3 separate regions of the Homo sapiens genome follow, and all the other regions are linked to region 3. Evidence: promoter capture Hi-C in human tissues and cell types (Jung and others, 2019). All regions are on one chromosome and are shown on one strand. Each heading gives the region's core, a stretch centred on a gene start or on the middle of the fragment in contact. The rest is flanking DNA. Distances are from core to core; before and after follow the strand shown.

Evidence for each region. Contacts are between HindIII fragments. The study calls those that stand out against the background at their distance.
Region 1: a fragment that was not itself captured here is called in contact with the fragment with the promoter of AP3B1 in region 3 in 1 of the 25 tissues and cell types used here (hippocampus).
Region 2: a contact is called between the fragment with the promoter of HOMER1 here and the fragment with the promoter of AP3B1 in region 3, in 1 of the 25 tissues and cell types used here (aorta).

The regions. Positions count from the first base shown.
Region 1 is chr5:77,131,658-77,134,864 of GRCh38, reverse strand. The region is part of intron 2 of ZBED3-AS1 (ZBED3 antisense RNA 1); the gene reads right to left. It also overlaps a transcript of PDE8B not described here. Among named protein-coding and RNA genes, the nearest start is that of ZBED3, 46 kb to the right of the region's middle. The HindIII fragment of the contact is 4,061 bases long and covers 1-3,207 here.
Region 2 is chr5:79,512,797-79,515,724 of GRCh38, reverse strand. It overlaps HOMER1 (homer scaffold protein 1), which reads left to right and starts at 1,591. Exons shown (of 9, transcript NM_004272.5): 1 at 1,591-2,928. RefSeq lists enhancers at 869-1,058, 767-1,314 and a silencer at 1,309-2,018. The HindIII fragment of the contact is 12,079 bases long and covers 1-2,928 here.
Region 3 is chr5:78,292,932-78,296,181 of GRCh38, reverse strand. It overlaps AP3B1 (adaptor related protein complex 3 subunit beta 1), which reads left to right and starts at 1,484. Exons shown (of 27, transcript NM_003664.5): 1 at 1,484-1,730. The coding sequence starts at 1,603. RefSeq lists enhancers at 224-273, 648-1,221. The HindIII fragment of the contact is 13,991 bases long and covers 1-3,250 here.

The sequences.
Region 1 (3,207 bases), core at 59-2,558, 1.2 Mb after region 3:
AATACTTAGAAGAGAGAAGTTAATGGGAGGAACTATAGCCCCTAGTGCCGCCAGTTGTCTTGAGATCGCAACCCATAGTCATCTTCTCCTACCTGCACTATCCAATCTAAATTCCCCTCCCCCTCTTTATTATCTTCATTATCTTTATTCCAGAAGGTCTTAGCTGTTGGCAGTCACATCACAGATTGGGCAAGACTACAGAAAAACTTGACCACAGGGATCACCTGGGATCCATACACATTCCTTCCTCCCTGTCCCATTGTGTACAGGCAGCCTCACCTCTTTCTGCTGATGGAAGTCAATGATTTCTTCTTTTCACCTGCTGGTCTCTTCATAGAAAGAGTCCAAAATGCCCTGGTGGCAGCCATAGTATATAGTTCAATGGGACACTTGCTGTGTCTCCTGCCAAGCTGCACCTCATTTGAGGACCAAAACCTCTAATCTCATAGAGCCCAGAGTTGTAGAGACAAGAAGCACAAAGTTCCCCAGGAGGTCATTGGAAATGATAAGTGGGTCCACTCCTGCTTCCACTTCTTGGTTCTCAGACCCATGTATTCTTCCTGTTGAGGACATAGCACCACATGGAGAACCCCAGTTTAATGTATACAGTGCATCCTGCAGGATGGTACCCTGTTCTTTCAGAGCATTGCCTCCAGCTGGAGCTCCAGCTGTGCCTTTAGTAACCATTCCAATGCTTTATGAGGCTGGCTCCATCTAGGTGATACAGTATCTGATATGACCAGTGGATCCCATGGTCATTGTCCTATTCCCAAGCCTCCTTTGCGATGAAGTGATCCTCTGGTCAATATTATGCTGTGTGTGCTTCCATGACTACAGATCGGCCCCAGGTAGTGGGGCTTGCTGAAGCTCTGTGGCAAGGAAAGGCAAATCTAAAGCCAGGAGAGGTATCTAACCCTGTGAGGATGAACTGTGGAACCTTCCAGGACAGAAGGCCCAATATAGCTGACTTGCCAACTATATTGGAGATGCAAAAGTTTATTTTCCAACTCAGCAAGTCCCAGAATTCTTGGGCTCCCTGCATTCCACCTACATGTTCCTTGAAACCTGGCTGGTTCTTTTCTGAACTCATCTCTAGTACCTATTATATGCAGCTAAATACAACTAGCTCACACTTTTATCATTGTGCATGAAGACTTCTCAGCACAAATCCAAATATTTTTAGGTACATATGCTAACTTCCAAGTTACCAAAGGTGACAGTTTTAGAAAATGTCTCATCCCTGCAAAACACAGATTACCATTTTCTTTCCAGCCTCCTATAACAGTTTTCTTGTGCCCATCATCCAGCCTCCAAACCAATGCCACTTATTTTTTTGTTTTCTTGTGCCTATACCTCACTACAAATATCAATTTCTAATACCAATTAGATACTAATTTCTGATACCAAAAGCTATTGCCACAAAATGTTATATGACAAACATCCAAAAATTCAGTGGCTTAAAATAACAGTCGTTTATTGTCATTGATCTATGAATCAGCTGAGTGTTGGCAGATCCAAGCTGGGCTCCACTGTGCAGCTCTGCTGATTCAGGCTGAGCTTGGCCAGGAGGGTTTGGCTTTGCTCCATGTGTTACTCATCCTCCTTCTAGAACCAGTGGGCTAGTCATCAGCCTGTTTGTTCTGTGCTTCTGATGGCATAAGCCTAAGAAAACAAGCCCAACCACACAAGTGTTTTTCAAGCCCCTACTTGCAACATACTTGCTAATATCCCACTAGCCAAAGTAAGTCAGGGTGAGGGAGAAAAGTGAATATTTTGAATAATAATCTAACCTACCACATGTTATTGTGGAATCATAGGTCATCTCCAAAGAGGAAAAGTCATCAGATACAAAGGATTGTGAATGAGAATGGCAGAACTTCTCTAGAGCAATATCAGAAGCTAGAAGACAATGAAATGCCTTCCAAATTCTGAGTGAAATTGTTTTAAACCTAGAATTCCATATCCGTCTAAACTATCAGTTAATTATAAGGCTAGAATAAAGATATTTTGAGATATGCACATGTAGAGTCTCAGTTAATGTACCTCCCATAGACCTTTCCTTAGAAGCTACTAGAGAATAAGAACCACCAAAAAGACGCAACCAAAACAGAGGAAGATAGAAAACATAGGAAATCCAGTTTAGGAGAGAGATGATGGAAATTTCCAGCATGATAGCACATGAAGTTCCATATTGTTGCACAGAAGACAGCAAGACTAGTCTGGAGCAGAGGGATGGAGGGCTCCATGGCTCTCTGCAGCGTGGGGAATTTGACTGAGTGGAAAGATACATAAAATGCTATTGTAGACAGTGGGAAAACCCAAGTATAGGTAAAATGGAAAACTAAGCAAATGAAAAATAACACAATTATTTAGAGGTATGTAGAAGGACGTAAAATCATAGCCCACTATTTTGTTCAGCCATAAACAATATTTCATATTATAAGAAGAACTGTCCTATAACTATATTGAGAGAATGGGAAGAAGAAAGTGAATAATGCCATAATAGAGAGTCACCAGACAATATTCAAGGTTGATAAATCAGGAAAAACAATATAGCACATATTAGTTAGCAATATGGAGGAAATGTATTGAGTCTGGAAAGTGGAATTAGAAAATATGAGGGGTGGGACATGGGCTTGTTCTATTTGGTTGCAAATCTTTTATCAATATTGGACTGTTGTGTAAAAATATGTACATATATTACTCTGATAAATTTTTTCAGGCCTAGGGAAATGTAATACAATTAGCTTGTATACTACTTTGGTGAGAGCAAATTTCATCTATTTTATCATTTATTGAATAAATATTTTTGCTTTGTTCTAGGTACAAATATTTTTGCTTAGTTGTAGGCATCAAAATAATTATGCACCGTGTTTGATGATTACAAAACACATTTGCATATATTTAATCTTGTGATTCAATTCTTACAACTCTGTGAGTTTGATACAGAAGCAAATTTACCTTGCTGTTAATGAATTCTAAGTTGCAGGACTGTTTGTTGAATGGACCCCTTTCTAACTCTGGAAAGGGGCCCTATCAATAAGTTTACATGGTTGTATAATTTTGTAAATTATACCCAAAAAAAGCCTTTTGTTAAGATCACTTCAACTCCTAATGCATCATATTTCCCCTTATGTGAACAAGAGAATTGTTTCTAAATAAACGCACAATTTTGTACCCAATTCATATCATAAATTTTTATTCTTT
Region 2 (2,928 bases), core at 342-2,841, 1.2 Mb before region 3:
TGGAAAACAGGGTCACTAAATTTGTAGACTAACTTGAAACAGTATTGGCCTTTGGCAATACGCAGCAATTCTATTTCTTGGCCATGCTTATCAAGTTAAGTAAAATAAAATCAAAGTTCACTATATGATTTACCTAATTAAAAAATTGTTTTAACCTAATTACTTTAAAATAATTTAAAAACTCTGTAGTAATTTACAATGTAAAAAGCACTCATAATATGGTGTTTATAGACACACATAGCTAGTAAACCTATAGACAGCTACTCACCCTTGCCATACAGAAAATGCAAAACACACTTAAGAGATATTGTAATTACATATTATGTGGTCAAAACTAAAGAAGACGAAAATATGCTTGTGTTAATGAAAAAGGATTTGGTGCTCTTTCTTATTTTTAATTTTTAAATTTTAATTTAAATTCCACAGACTGAAACCCATATACTTTTTCTCTTTCTTGTTTTACTGGCTGGAGCCAAGTGTCATGGAACTCATATTCTTGATGAAGAGAAACTGAGAGGACACACTGGCATTTGCTATACGTGAACTAAGATTGACTCATTTTCCTATGTCAAAACTGCTATTTTGCAAATAAAATTACTATCCTTTATAACATTATTTCGTTTGCTTATTGCTCTGCTCTTTATTCTTTCGTGTTTCAGGTAACCACTAACAAAAAGTTTAAAAGTCGACTATGTCCAGAATGGCACTCTATAATTGAAAATTTAGGTGATTTTTCCGAAGTCCTGTTGGAAGCACATCTACCAGCAGTGTGATCAGGCTCTCCCTCCCACATTTCCCTGCTAGTCAGGACAAGAGAAGCCCGGGGGTGCTGCTGCAATAGCGGTGGGAGTGGGAGATAGGCTATTACCCGCTTGACACTGCACTTTTGCTACGAATGATTCACTCAGGTTTGGCACATTTGTTGCAAGGAAATCTCCTCCTCCCGCCGCTTCCTTGTTCGAGCTCCTCTCGGGCTGTCTCCTGTGCTTTGGCCTTTAAGGAGAAGTGAGAGCAGGTGGGCACACAGGAGCTCGCCGAGTCCTCCTCCCCCTGCTCCTTCCCTAATTTAGCAGTACTTCCGGCCGCGTGACATCATCCCCCGCACCTCGGTGACGTGAGCTGCGGGTGACGTGTGTGCGGAGAGAAGCGCGCTGACGTTGCTATTTAAAGGTCCTCCTGCGGGGAGGATGGAGACACAGCGCGAGCACCTGGTGTGGGGCGCGGAGGAGGCTGTGGCGGTCGGGAGCGGGGCCAAGAGCCAGAGGAGGAGCAGAGCGCACGGCCAGCCAGCCGCCAGCCTCTAGGGGAGGGGGGAAAAGAAGGACGAACGGACTGAGGGCCTGCCGCCGGCCCAGCTCCCCACGAGGGCCGCTCGGCCCCCCACCATCAGCCTCTCCGCCGCCTTGCGGCTGCTGCTTTCTCCCGCGGCCCGCTGCTCGCAAGGCCCGTCGGGCTCCCGGGACCAGTCCGCGCCCCAGCCCCCGGCCGCGGCTCCGCGGCGGCCACCGCCTCCCGTCCCTTCCCGCGAGCAGAGGGAGGGACCGCCCTCGCTCCCCGTTCTCTCCGCCCCCTTCCCGCCCCCCGCAGCCCACTCTGCCGCCGCGCTAGCTTCACGCCGGCGGCGCTGACCGGGAAAGCAGCACCCTCTTCTCTGCCAGCCGGCCGGCCGGCGGAGGCGGAGGCAGCGGCAGGCTTCAGGCCGCCGGGGCTGGCGCTGCTCTGCCCGGCGGTAGCCGGAGGCGGGCGCTGATGGAAGTGTGAAGAGGCGGCGGCGGGGCCCGGGGAATGTGAGGCGGCGCGTGGCGGCGGCGCGGAGCGTGAGAGACGAGGAGTAGGGGTGGGGGCGCTGGAGCGGCGGCTGCGCTTCGGCTTCGAGCCCAGCTCTCCTGGCCCCAACGCGGGCTTAGCCTCCCGCCTTGGCTCGGGCAGGCGCCCGTCGACCCTTCGGCCCCTTTCGCCCGCCCTGGAGCTGGGGGCAGGGTGCCAGTGGAAGCGTGGGGCTTGGCTCTGTGATTCATTCATTCTCCGCCGACGGGAGCCTCAGACCCGCTGTGCTCTGAAGAGAGGAGGGAAGAGGGGGCAGCCGCGAATGAAGGGCCGGGCACCAGCCGGGCTCCATTGTGCTCGGCGGCGGGGGGCGGGAAGGGGCTGAGGGAGGTGGGATCGGGTCCCCTCCTCCAGCTCTCCGGCGTGCGCTGCGCCCCCAGCCTGCTGCCAGCCTGGAAATGGCTCCGTTTATTCTCTTCGGGAGAATGAATCGATCCTGCCTAGCCTTCTCTTCGTCCTCCCCACCTCTTCTCTGCTCCGAGTCTTAGGAGGAGAAACATTTAAAAAGACAGATTCCAATGTGGAGTGCCGTGCAGGTTGCGAGCTGCCGGGTTTGCACTTCGAGGAGATTTTCCTGTGTAGTTTTTTTCCTAATGTGAGCGCAGGGAAGCCGTGGCATTACTGCTTTTGGGATTTTTATTCACGTGCACGTCGCGTTTGGTTGCTCGCTCCACCCCCGGAGACCTGGTGTGGTGGAGAAATTTGAACCCGCAGCCTTAGCTCCGAAAAGGCCGAGTTACCTGGCTCTCCCTGAGTGTCGAGGAGGACATGAGTGAAATGACCAGCGAACTCATTTTTTATAGGACTCGGTGAAGCCGGATTCTGCATTTCCCTACTTGTAGACTCATTTTGTGGAATAGAGTTGATCGCTGTCTCCTCCGCAAAGCATTTTAACTCGAATAAGCAAATGCCGCCTCTGTTTGAACGTTTTGGTATTTACAAGAGAGAAATCATTTTACCTAAGAGAACTAATTGAATTGGCAGCATCCTTGAAATACCTCCGGACAAGGATCTGGGGGTGGGGGTGGAAAAGCAACTGCGAAATAGCAGACGGAGAAATTCCTTTGGAAGTTATTCCGTAGCATAAGAGCTGAAACTTCA
Region 3 (3,250 bases), core at 235-2,734:
CCTCATCATCAATAGTCAGTTGTAGGTGAAATTCTATTAATTAATACTGACAAATAACACATTTTAGGTGCTCATCATTGGCTCTCCGGAGGAGTATTCTAACAGCTGAATTAAAAACCTGCCAATATTTGACCAGACGATCAAGTTTGGAGGACGTCCCTTCCTCTCCCACCCAGAGCCACGCTCTTGCGTGCTTCCACAGTGACAGTGTGACCTTTTGAAATTTGGAGATCATACTCTCATCCTTGAAAACGCCCCACCGCCTTCCCTGGGGCGGCCGGCCTCCAGGTTCGCGTTCTACCTGGTAGAATCCCTTGACAGTTTCAGTACCTGGCCGCCAGGGCTTTGGGTGTTAATGCCTTCCTTGGACGGGAGGCACTGGGGAGAAGAGAGGGAAGGCGCTGAAACCCACCTGAGAAGGCGGGCTGGGGGAAGGCACCCCGGGAAAGAGGTTTTCTCGGGTGCCAGCACCCGGAGAGAGCTACTCTGGGGCCAGGCAAGCATCCCGCCTAGGCTCCCTAGTGCATATTAGTGAGTAACACGACTGGCGCGCGAGGTGGTCCATTTTATTTTTGGTAGCTAGACGCCAATAGGACGCACCACTTCAGCTCCAAACGGGAACTGGTGGCCCCAAGATGTTTTCTTTTCTTTTTCATTTTTTTGAGACAGGGTCTCGCTCTGTCGCCCAGGCTGGAATGCAGTGGAGAGATCTCAACTCATCGCTACCCCCTCCTTCTGGGTTCGAGTGATCCTCCCACCTCAGCCTCAGTAGCTGGGACCACAGACACGCGCCACCACGCCGGCTAATTTTTATATTTTTTGCAGAGAAAGGGTCTCGCTATGTTGCCTAGGCTGGTCTCGAACTCCTGGCCTCAAGTGATCCACCCGCCTCGGCCTCCCAAAGTGCTGGAATTACTGGCGTGAGCCACCGCGCCCGGTCTGCCCCCAAGACTTTCATTGAAAAGATGGAATGGTCGCTTCTGTGCGGATCCTCCAAACCATCGTTGGGAGAGGCCTCCTTAAAGTCTAGGAGAAAAGTTGTTTGGGACCGATATGAAAGTAAGGCAAAGCCGGATGGAAGAGAGTAGCCGAAACAAGCAAGAAAAGGAAAAGCGATCGTGATGGGTTTAGGAAAGGTGATCTGGCGTGCTAAATGGCATTTCCGGAGAAATCTGAAAACTATTGCTTTACTGAAGTATAGCAAAGAGCTGTCCGGGCTCTGGAAACTCCTTAACGGATCAAAACGGATGCAATGGGTATCCTTCTCCAAAGACACACCTCAAACGGGCCGGGAGCCGGGCAGTTAGCCACCCGCTGCCTCCCCTTCCGCAGTCCGGCTCGCAGCCGCTCAGCTACCTCTAAAGCCCGGAGCAGGAAAGTCCGCGCAGGCCTGGATGGCCCGGGTGGTAATCTAGCAGGCCTGCACACTGCGCATGCGCAGGGGGTGGACTGCCAGGTCGGCTCAGGGAGCCGTGACGAGTCCGGAAGCGCCTGCGCGCGCTCCTCCGTACGAGAACTAGTTTTGTTCCGTGCCCTCTGGACTGGAACCTTTTGGAGAGAACCCCCGGCAGGACCAACCCCGCACCCGCCAGCACCGCGGCAATGTCCAGCAATAGTTTTCCTTACAATGAGCAGTCCGGAGGAGGGGAGGCGACGGAGCTGGGTCAGGAGGCGACCTCAACCATTTCCCCCTCGGGGGCCTTCGGCCTCTTTAGCAGCGATTTGAAGAAGTGAGGAGAAAGGTTTGGGTTGCGGGGATGGGAGGGAGGAGCTGCGGACTCGGAGGAGTGGGCGCCAGGGTGGGCTTCCTGGAGAGGAGCGGGGTCGCCCTGAGGTCTGAGCAGGGCAGGGCGGTAACGTGTCCCGCGGGTGGGTAGGTGGGGTTGGTTGGCGGTGGTGGGAGTTGTGGGAGTTTGGGGCGAATGTGTGTAGGGGTCTCTAGTAGTTTTCAAACTTTAGTGAAAAGGAAACCACTTGGTGAGCTTAGATCCCACCCCTGAAGACACTGATTGAATTGGACTTGGGCTGGGCTCAGGAGTCTGAATTTTGAGCATCGTCTTCTAGTTTATTTACCGTTCGCCGGATCAGACTTTAATACATTCCCTGATTAGGGTGAAAGGAGTGTTTTGGTGAAGGTGAGAGTGCGAGTGTTGCTTGTGGGAAGTTATTTTGTGACCCCGGAGTGTAGGAGCAGAGAGGTGGATTTAGGCTGTTTGAATGGACAAACTGGTTTACACCAGTATTAATGTTCTTGGATTATGTCCTTTGCACTACAGACAAAAACACCAATCCAAAATAAGCATATGAATAGAAAATATTTTAAAAGAGTGTTACTGTGAACAAATCCAAAACTTTTACAGATTAATAATGTGAATTTTAAAAACGAATGTTAAACAAGGTACACTTAGTTTTGTAAAAAGTATCACCGAGAAATGGAAAGAAATCCCAAGTTGTTTGTTTTGGGGGGTGGGTTGGTGGTAGTGGTTACATTTACCAGAATTATCATTTTTACATTTCTCTTATTTTAAATCTTTCATTACTAAGCAATAGGGTCACATAATAGTCTGTCACTAAATTCATGCTAAATTAAGGTAGAATAGCTGTGCTAGTAGCTTTGCAGATCTGTTAGAGGGTATAATTAAAATTTAAATTAAACGTTACTAACAATATTGGGTAGTCTAGAAAGTGCTACTACTTCAAATTGGGATTACATTTTGGCTGTATTGAGGATCAAAATCATATATATAGCATGTAAGATACAATCTTTTCCTTTTTCCCAAGGTTAGAAAAGTTTAAAAGTAAGGTAACTGATTTCATTTTTCATTATATGCATTTGATGATCCATTGTTCTAGAACAAGTACGGAGCTTGTTGCCTCTACTATTAGCAAAATGTTTAGACTGAATTAACCTGTATATCGGCATCAATCTGTTTCGCAAATTAATTTACTTTTATGGTTTGTGAACATCTACGATGTTTTCTCTTAGATTTTTGTCAGATTTGGGGCCAGGCACTGCGGCTCACGCCTGTAATCCCAGCACTTTGGGAGGGTGAGGTGGGCGGATCGCTTGAGGCCAGGAGTTCGAGACCAGCCTGGCCAACATGGTGAAACCCCGTCTCTACTAAAAATACAAAAATTAGCCGGGCGTGGTGGCTCGTGCCTGTAATCCCAGCTACTCGGGAGGCTGAGGCAGGAGAATCGCTTGAACCCGGGAGGCGGAAGCTGCAGTGAGCCGAGATCGCGCCACAGC